2 separate regions of the Homo sapiens genome follow, and region 1 is linked to region 2. The links are contacts of gene promoters, found by promoter capture Hi-C in blood cells and fetal thymus (Javierre and others, 2016). All regions are on one chromosome and are shown on one strand. The core of a region is centred on a gene start or on the middle of the fragment in contact, and the rest is flanking DNA. Distances in the headings are between cores, read along the strand shown.

Region 1 (4,937 bases), core at 862-3,361, 540 kb before region 2:
GGGGTCATTTCTCCCAAAGCTTCCTTTCAAGGGTGTCAGGGATGTCTGTGAGTGTGTGTGTGCAACTGAAAAAGATCCTAGGTTTGCCGGACTGTGGGGCTCATTGACTCTGGGTCTGCCCCTTCTGGTGTTCGAGTGTGCCTAGAGGTGGCAAGGAAGTGCGGTGGGGAGAGTCCTAGTTGAGTGCCCCTTTTAAAGTCTTTCCCCAGCCCTCAGCGCTTCCGCTTTTCTTGCTTCGCTCCTTGATGCCCCAATTGGGCAGGCACGCTGGTTATGGGCACTTTGCAGAAGTTTATAGCCAATTACAACTGTATAAATCAAAGCGCCCTTTGGGGGCTGTCTCTGGGCATCGGTTTCTGCGTCACTGTGCACATGCTAGGGAGAGTCCTGGTGGGAATGCCGCCGACCGGGGAGAAGGCCACAGATCAGCCTCGGGTGAGCCTCAGAGCTTTGGCTTGGTCCCTTCTCCTAGAGGAGGCGCCTTTCTCCTAGCAGGGGCTCCCAGATCCTGGCTCCCAAAGACCCACTTTCTACAGCCCCTGTCTGGGGCGCGGTTGGCGGGGGTGGCGCACGCCCTAAGGAAGACCTTTGCGTGTCCCGGGAGAGCGGCCGCGGGGTGAGGGCCGGGAAGGGGGCGGGAGGGAAGCCGCCAGAGCCCAGGCCGCGGGGTCAGCAGATGAGAGGCCGCTGTGAAGTCCTGCGCCGAGGTGGCAAGGCCGCAGTCGGCGCCGGGTGCCCTTGTGATGTTAATGTGGGGTGGCCGCAGCCCGCGGGCCGGAGCCGGGCTCCTCTGCGGAGCGTCATCTGTCAAGGTGTGGGGGTGGAGGGGGGGACGCGGCCTGGCTTGCTTTGATATACACCTTCCCAGCCCTGCCATTGTCTCTTTTAGGGCCCGGAAAGAGGGTGGTGACTTTCGCAGTCAATAATGAATTCTGACAAGTCCCTCTCATCCCTCCCCTCCATAGCCCCGCTCCTAGGTTCCCAGGGGGTGTGGGGCGCCTCCAAGGCCCTTGGGGCATGGGTCGAAGAGCGCTCAGGGTCTGGTCATCGCGTTGCCCGGCACGTCCGGGACACTGAAGGGGCAGCACCCGAGCAAGGGTCGCTCCGAGACACTTCCAGGCGAGTCTCCCTCCCGGGGTGTTCGGCTGAGGGAACTGCCCTGCGCCTCAGCTCCGGAGGTGTCCTCTGTGGCTCCAGCCAGGCTCCGGTGCCAACCCCGCCTGATACTATCTGCGTGACCCGGTCTGATTCTCCATTTCCTCATCTGTAAAAAGGGGCGAGTACCAATGGCAGCCTGGAGTGGGTTTGAGGCGGTCACGCGTGTCCGAGCGTCCACCGCGGAGAAAGTCGCGTTAGTTCCCTTTACTTTCATAGCAGGCGCGGGGTCGGGGCCGCAGCCCCATTCAAATGCGCCTGCAGGGTCGTGTTTATGTTAATGCGCCTGGCGGGGAGGGGGATGAAAGCCGGGGCCGCCATTTGCTCAGTAGTGGTAATTCAAACAGAATGTGGTTGTTATTAAGGCATTGAAAGGGCTTTTCTTTGATAAGATCGCCTTGTCCTGCATTGTTTGCGGCTGTGTTGGCCTTTCAGCGGCTCGGGGGAGCTCCCTCTGATCAGGCCTGTATCTTCCCAGGACGCTTTTGTTGTGGTTTGCAAAGGGTTTTACCTGAACAAAGTCAGCCTGCGGGGCATTAAACACCTCCAGGCAACTCCCAGGCCCTTCAGATCTTTCTGTGGGATTGGGCACTGGGCGATTGAACCTGTTCAGCTGCAAGAAGACCCAAAAGTGGGACGGAGCCAGAGAGAACAGCTTCTGGCCAGGGCTCTGCCAAGGGCTGAGCCAAGACAGACCTGGTGGAGACGCCAGGCTCGGGCCTGCTCCAACATTGTGGACACTATTTGTCAAGGCCCTTCAGTAAAACAATCAATCTGGGATTTAATATGTTGACTCAATCCAATGAGCATAGATCACTGGTCAGGATAACTCTGGCCGGATTTGCAGCAGGAATAAATGGAGGATCAAAAAAGAAAAAGTACCAAACGCCAAACCTGGTCTGGGCAGGTATAAAGTGTCCCCAGCAGGAGGGGTTTTCTGCCTGTTCCCTCGGCCAGAGCCCAGCTCAGAATTCCACCTGATGGGCCTGGTGTGTCTGGGGGATGATTCTGGCGACTTGTCAGCTCCTGAGCCCCGCTTTCCACTTGTAGTAAAGCAAAGTAGTAACCCCCACACCCCCTCTACAACATGTGCCCACAATGACAGCTGTTTTCGGGGTGGGCTTCCATCTCTGGTAGGCCTGGAAATCTGGATGCTTCCAGGATCCCGGCCACTTCACCCTGCCCCCTTTCCCTTGGTGTCAAATATATGCCAGTACTGTATTTGGTTTACCGAAAGGGTGGTTACATTCTGCTGTCTTCTGTGTGAATGAGGTTTTCACTTTCCTTAATTTTTAAAAACCACTTAATACCAAGGTTAGTTTAGTTGCCTCCACTAGCCTCATACCCTCCCCCCACAGGACCCTCTGGGGGGTCTTGTCAGACTTGGCAGGAACCAGCCAAACCCGGGCCCCCCAGGGTGGTGGAGGAAGAGAAATGTCCCTGGGTTAGGGAGGTTTGTCATTACCCATGACTGATGGGCTGCCTTGCAGTTCTCAGCCCTCACTTCTCCTTCCTCCACAGTGAAAACCAGGACGAAAGACAAATATCGAGTGGTGTACACGGACCACCAGCGGCTGGAGCTGGAGAAGGAGTTTCACTACAGTCGCTACATCACCATCCGGAGGAAAGCCGAGCTAGCCGCCACGCTGGGGCTCTCTGAGAGGCAGGTGGGGACCGCCTAGCTCCCTCCGGGCGGGCCACTGCCTGGCAGAGGACCATGAGAGTTAGAAAATCTGGCTGCAGGGGCCATCTAAATCTGTGGAGAGACTGAAGCAGGAGGATGCAAGCATTCGTCTTTGGAGTCCTTTTTTTTTTTTTTTTTTTTTTTAAACAGAGATGGGGTCTTGCTTTGTGGCCCAGGCTGGAGTGTAGTGGCACAATCATAGCTCACTGCAGCCCTGACTTCCTGAGCTGAAGGGATCCTCCTGCCTCAGTCACCTGAGTAGCTTGGACTACAGGCTCGAGCCACCATGACTGGCTAATGTTTAAATTTTTTGCAGAGATGGTCTCACTGTCTTACCCAGGTTGGTCTCAAACTCCAAATGCTCCTCCTGTCTTGGACTCCTAAAGTGCTGAGATTACCGGTGTGAACCACCATGCCTGGCCTGGAGTACATGCCCCCCCACCCGCCACCGTCGAAACGCAGTTTCACTCTTGTTGTGCAGGCTGAAGTGCAATGGCGCGGTCTCAGCTCACTGCAACCTCTGCCTCCCGGGTTCAAGCGATTCTCCTGCTTCAGCCTCCCAAATAGCTGGGACTACAGGCATGTGCCACCACGCCCGGCTAATTTTGTATTTTTAGTAGAAATGCGGTTTCTCCATGTTAGTCAGGCTAGTCTCGAACTCCTGGCCTCAGGTGATCCACCCGCCTCGGCCTCCCAAAGTGCTGAGATTACAGGTGTGAGCCACTGTGCCTGGCCCTGGAGTACTTTTTTAAAAAGCCTCCTTCTACCTTTAGTCCTCTTTTTTTGATGTTGTTGATTTTTTCTGTCTCTCTCTTTTGAGGGATATAAGAAGTGTGAAAAACAGCCAAGGGTATTAGTTTAATCCAGAATTCCATTTGGGTCTATAAAGACATATTAAAGACCTATTCTCTTTGTTTCCAGCACTGTACCTAAGAAAATAAACTGAATAAAGTACTCAGTCTCTCACAAAAACTAGAGGGACAAGACTTGGTTCATGAACATTTTATATATATAGTCTAGAAAAACAGGCCAACTTCACAGCCAGGAAGCCACAAAATTAAATCTCATTTTCAGCTCTAAGGTGAGGAAAATTACGTTTTAGTTTAGCCTTGAGGGGCCAAAGGTTGCCATTTGAAGTATACCACCCAGCACTGGCCTCCCTTTGCTGTGTAGAAAGGGCCTTGCAGTTTCAGTTTTCCTTGGTTCTGAGACTTTAAACTTTTGCAGTAAATACGTAGATAAAAGTTGCTTTGAAAAGAAACTCAGGGAGCAAGGAAGGAGGAAGACTCTTCCCCATGAGGCTGAATTGGGCCTAAGAATGGATCCAGGGTTGGGCTGTTATGGGGATGCCCGAGGAAAGCTTCTAGAAGGACTTGGAGTTCTGTAGCTGGAGCAGAAGATGTTGATGATACTGCTGGGTACTGTTCCTCTTTTCCCTCACATCTTCACCACAATGTGCTTTTCTCCACCTTTCCATTTCTAGGTTAAAATCTGGTTTCAGAACCGCAGAGCAAAGGAGAGGAAAATCAACAAGAAGAAGTTGCAGCAGCAACAGCAGCAGCAGCCACCACAGCCGCCTCCGCCGCCACCACAGCCTCCCCAGCCTCAGCCAGGTCCTCTGAGAAGTGTCCCAGAGCCCTTGAGTCCGGTGTCTTCCCTGCAAGCCTCAGTGCCTGGCTCTGTCCCTGGGGTTCTGGGGCCAACTGGGGGGGTGCTAAACCCCACCGTCACCCAGTGACCCACCGGGTTCTGCAGCGGCAGAGCAATTCCAGGCTGAGCCATGAGGAGCGTGGACTCTGCTAGACTCCTCAGGAGAGACCCCTCCCCTCCCACCCACAGCCATAGACCTACAGACCTGGCTCTCAGAGGAAAAATGGGAGCCAGGAGTAAGACAAGTGGGATTTGGGGCCTCAAGAAATATACTCTCCCAGATTTTTACTTTTTCCCATCTGGCTTTTTCTGCCACTGAGGAGACAGAAAGCCTCCGCTGGGCTTCATTCCGGACTGGCAGAAGCATTGCCTGGACTGACCACACCAACCAGGCCTTCATCCTCCTCCCCAGCTCTTCTCTTCCTAGATCTGCAGGCTGCACCTCTGG
Region 2 (5,155 bases), core at 2,656-5,155:
AGATAAGCAGAAAAGGGCTAAATCACGCAGGTCATTGTAGGACACACTTGAAACCTGGATTTCACATGTAGGCCGTGCTTGAAAGCACTGCACAGCTTTAAGGGAAGCACACGGGAGGGCACTGGGGGAGAGGGCTGGCCTGCAAACTGTCATTCCAGCCAGAGGAAGGGACCGAGATAAGACAGTGGCTGCTGGATCTGATGGGTCAGTTACAGGATCTGGCAACCCACCTGTTGCAAGGGATGGGAGAAAGAATGGAGAGTCCAGGGAGCTGCCTTATCTTTGCTATGGGTCACTGGACAGACAGCGAGGCCACCTCTCCAGACAAGAACATGAGAGAAGATCAAACAGAAAAGTGAGCTCAGTTTGACTGTGACAAATTTGGGCCATGTGGAATTTTTTATTTATTTATTTCTTTAATAGAGATGGACCTGACCATCTTGCCCAGCCTGAACTCCTGGCCTCAAAGCAATCCTCCCACCTCAGCCTCTCAAAGTGCTGGGATTACAGGCATGAGCCACCACACCCAGCCTACCACATGGAATTTAAGAAGACACAGAGATAGCCAAGTAGCACTGTCCAGCGAGCAGTGGGAAACGGGGAACTACAGCTAAAGAGGGGCAGGGTCTGGGTTAGATCATGAGCTGGAAGAGTCATGTCCAGTAGTTCCTGGTTGCATGGCATTTCCTACCATCCCCACCCCCTACTTGGCCAGGATCCCCCACTGCTCCCAAAACAGATGACATTTTTAGTTTTGTTATGTAACTTTTAAGACTTCTTTACAAATAGGAACAAATACAAATATAGTTGCTTCCTGCCTACCCAACACCCACTACTCACCCCTCCCCCTACCCCCTAGCTTTTTTACACACATAAAAGTAGCCTAAAGAGGACTCTTCTGCACCTTGGTTTTTCAATTAAAGTGCCCTGGTGATTTTCTCATGGCTTTGCAGAGAGCATCTGCATTCATTTTCCTGGCTGTAGGGTATCCCATTGTGTTGATATACTTTAGCTTGTCCCCACCCATGAGCATTTTATGTTAGCTCAGCCTCCTGGGTAGCTAGGATTACAGGCACAAACCACCATCCCTGACTAATTTTTGTATTTTTGTACATACGGGGTTTCACCATGTTGCCCAGGTTTGTCTCAAACTCCTGGGTTCAAGTGATCTGCCCATCTCCGCCTCCCAAAGTGCTGGGATTACAGGCATGAGCCACCGAGCCCTGCCAGGCTTCACATTCCTGATCTCGTGAGTTAACATCAATCTTCTTACTGGGTCTATATGCCCAACACAACCCACTTCAAAAGCCTAAAAACAGGTCTCTACTTACACAAACGGCTTTTCTCCTGTGTGAGTCAGAATGTGGCGGCTCAGATGGTAGTCCCTGATGAAGGCCTTGCCACACCCTTCATAGTCACAAACAAATGGTCTCTAGCAGGAAAAAAGAAAAAGCATGTCACTTCTGCACTAGTTAGTAACTCTGGTATTATTTAAAAGCTTAAACTGCCTAGTGTTAAGGCCACAGGCTTCCTATGAAGAGGTGGTTTCTACTCAGAGCTGTGCACCCACTGCAAGACGCAGTGTTCCTGCACAAAGTTACACAACATAAACATCACAACTTCTCACAAAGTCACTACACAGATTTTTGTTCCATGAACAGCATTTAAAATAAGCAGGCATAGCATTTTTAACCTGCTCCCAACCCGGCAGCAGGCTTTCACAGCAACCCCCTCTTAAAGACGCCCTGGCTGTTAGCATGGCTTGTCTGCATGGATCCCCACCACCGCATGATTTAACATGTAAAAAAGCAAGCCTAGGGCAGAGGAACGAGGGAGGCCTGTCTCATCCCAGACAAGCCCAGGGTCTGTGCTAGGATAATGCCAAGCACAGCTATAGGAAAGTGTGTCACACCTGAAAAAGCTCACAGGTGCCAGGGCGAAGCAAAGAAAACAGCTCAACACCCTAAATGCAACCACCTTTTGTAACCCAGGAGTTGGGAGGGGGTGACTCATTTTGAACCTATAGTAAAAGCCAAACACACACCCCAAATAACCAAATAACCAGTTTGGTGCATCAAACTATGAAAAGCATACTACCAAGGCGTCCAGGAGGGAGGCACCGAGGCCTCCATGAGAGTACTAGGAGCAAAACAAGCAAACAGGAACACAGTGAGCTACATACCACCAGGGGCGGAGCCACAGAACCTTGCACAGCGGCAGGCGTGGAGTAGGCTCAATAAACATTTGTCAAATTAATCTGCATGAGAGATCTGGGACAACAAAGATGACTCCAAGTTTTTCAACCTGTATTAAGGAAACTGGTAGCGCCAGTATCCAAAATACAGCACACCGGTCTAAAAGGAAAGGCAAGCTCTTACGTGGATCTACTGGTAATACAGAGCCCAGAATTTAGAGGCTAGAACGGGCAAGAGGAAGGGCAGAGGGGCAAAGCATAAAGGATGTTATGAGTCATGCCGGTGGCTATGTAAGACCGCAAGAGGGAGCTGGGCGGGGTGGAACATGCAGAGGGCAGAAGAGGATCCAACGAAAAGGGCAGACGAGGAAGAGGAAAAGAACCAGAGAAGGTCTCAAGGAAGAAGCGGTCGGCCTTCCAGTGCTGGAGAGGTTAAGGAATGAGGCCCCGGAGGACACCTGGAGAAGGTGGCCCATAAATTAGAGGAGGTGCAAGGGGCAAAGGTATGGACTGCAGCCCAGTGGTTTAAGAAATTAAGGGCTTTAAGCTGAGGCAGTGTGAAGCCTAGCTCTGCCAAAAACTGGGAAGCTGGGCAGATTCCTTGACCTCCATGACCCTCGTTTTCCTCACTTGTGTGTGACATGGGCTGCCACGTCATATCATGGTATCTGACATTCTCCTGCCCTCAAAATAAAATCCAAACTCCTAATGGGCCTACTTCTCAGACCTCATATGGTGATCTCCGCACCCAAACACACCCACCTGCCTCCCACCCCAAGGGTCACAGGCTCCCTTTGTGTTCTCTCTACCTAGCACAAATGTCTGCATGGCTAGATCCTTCCTTCTTACACGGCTCACACAGAGAGGCCTTTCCTGACCACAACACTGCATGTCATTCCCACCTATCCTGTGGTCGGCTCGACCCAGGAACAAAGGTCCATGGCAGCAGAAACCTTGGGTTTGCCTGTTTTGCTCACTGCTCTCTCCAGTGTGGAGTTACGAAGAAATGAGCACATGCTGCTTTCACGACCCCTGGTACATGTAACCCATCTTCTGTACCAGCTCCAGGGGCCAGTGTTTGGCAGGTGTCTAGTAGCGGTGGGCCCCCTCAAACCTCACACTTATTTGCAGATTACGGGAGGCACTTGGCTGGCCGAGACTCACGATCAATGACTGCTTAGTAAATCCCGAGCCCCTGCCATGGATATCAAGGTCGCAGAACGAAGGTCCTACAACTTCCTGTCTACTTCCTCAGCTCCTTCCCCAAGTCCTGGATGTCAAAGCTGAACGCGCTGCACAGCGGGGCCTGCGGCCCTGGCCACGACTGCAGTGGCTACCCCGGGGCCACGCGCCATCCCTAGGCCCAGGGTTGGCAGCCTCGCCCCCCTCACCTCCCCCGTGTGCTTGCACAGGTGCGCGTCAAGCTTCCAGGCTTTGCTGTAATTGGCGCTGCAGTCAGGGAAGGAGCAGATGAACCTCCTGGGAAGCGCGGGGCGCGGCGGGGTCGGAGCTGAGCTCTCGCCGGCTGCAATGAACGCGTCGGCGATGGTCAAGGACGACACCGACTCGGCGACCACGGCCGGCGGATCCAGGGCGCCGGCGCCTCCAAGCCCAGGGCCAGGCGCGCTGCCACGTGCCGAGACACGTGCCGGGAACCGGCGCGCCCGGCCCACGGCTCCCTGCTGAACCTTCGCGCGACGCCGGCACACTTCCGGGAGCGCGCGCGGTCACCAGGCACCGCCCCGCGTCGGCGCCGCTGCTGCGCATGCTCCGGGAGATCGCGCATGCGCCAGGAGGCCCCGCCGCGGCTCGCGGCCCGTGCCCTGTCAGCCCTGGATGAGAGGCGGGGGTTTCTGCGTCCTCGGCAGAAGGCTGCTGCGTTTCACAGGCAACTCAAATCCCGAGGCACTGCTTAAATGGGGCTTGTTTCCCGTCCTCCAGTACACTCTGGAAAGCACTAGCCTTACATAATTTAAGTTAGCCTGTTGCCACATTACTAGTGTGACCTGTGTGGTTTCGTTTCTTTGCGTGCTTTACGTGCTTCTGCTGCAAGCCCCAGTTCAGAGGTTCCTAAGCTCAGATTCACGTGGAGAGCTTTACAAAATCCCGAAGCCTAGAGGATACTTGGACCACTTAAATCACAATTTCTGGGGGTAGGAAACAGGCATCAGTATTTTTGGAAACTTCCTAGGTGATTTCAATGCGCAGAAAAGTTTGGGAACCACTATCCTGGCACAGTAGTGCGCACCTGTAGTCCCAGGTACGCGGGCGAATCGCTTGAGCCCAGAGTGAGACCCCGAGCTCTAAAAGAATAAATACAGATGTCTCCCCATCCTACCCTTCCCCACCCCGGCAAACTGACCAGGTGGTTGGAAAAAAAAAAAAAAAAAAAGGAAAAGTTTGGGAACACTGCCCTAGAGCCTTGATGACCTACTTGAAACAAATCTCCAGGTGATTCAGTGCATATCAAAACCTGAGAAGCACTTTTGAGAGGCCTGAATGAATATGAGTATCTTAGTTTATGAGGACCACATGCCTAAAAAATGTCCTTGGATACAGATAACTGGCAGGATGACTTGGGGGATGTTCGCCAGATCCATATTTTTCACATCCTGCATTATTCCGAATCATTAAGCCCTTGTCGGAATGTGATGAACAGGTCCCTGCACAGCAGTGCAGTTCTGGAAACAAGCCAGGGCTTAACATCAGTGCTTATGAACTGAGTATTCCAGTTCATAAACACTCCTTTGCCTCAGTCTGCTCATCTTGAAAGTGGGAAAGTTGATAACGCCTGTGTCATCCTCCGTCTCAAGATAACGGGGCTGTGAGAGTGTCTATGCCTTGGGTCCACCTGTTGCTTTCTTCATTTGCCACTCTAGCCCCTGTCCATGGATGGGAGAATTCTACACTCATCCCTCCCACAACTCCGGAATTCTAAAATGGTTTCTCTTGCGCCAGTTC

Evidence for each region. The method cuts DNA at HindIII sites, captures the fragments that hold promoters and counts their contacts. A CHiCAGO score of 5 or more calls a contact.
Region 1: a contact is called between a fragment that was not itself captured here and the fragment with the promoter of GTF3A in region 2, in 6 of 17 cell types (erythroblasts, M0 macrophages, M1 macrophages and 3 more). The highest score is 7.4, in erythroblasts.

The regions. Positions count from the first base shown.
Region 1 is chr13:27,962,755-27,967,691 of GRCh38, reverse strand. It overlaps CDX2 (caudal type homeobox 2), which reads left to right. Exons shown (of 3, transcript NM_001265.6): 2 at 2,677-2,822; 3 at 4,323-4,937. The coding sequence ends at 4,577. Among named protein-coding and RNA genes, the nearest start is that of CDX2, 4.1 kb to the left of the region's middle. RefSeq lists enhancers at 527-1,218, 1,219-1,910. The HindIII fragment of the contact is 4,180 bases long and covers 22-4,201 here.
Region 2 is chr13:27,423,369-27,428,523 of GRCh38, reverse strand. GTF3A (general transcription factor IIIA) reads right to left here and starts at 3,905. Exons shown (of 9, transcript NM_002097.3): 1 at 3,586-3,905; 2 at 1,332-1,432. The coding sequence starts at 3,786. RefSeq lists silencers at 107-487, 3,561-3,640, 3,741-3,800, 3,811-4,080 and enhancers at 2,231-2,450, 3,401-3,470. The HindIII fragment of the contact is 2,756 bases long and covers 3,621-5,155 here.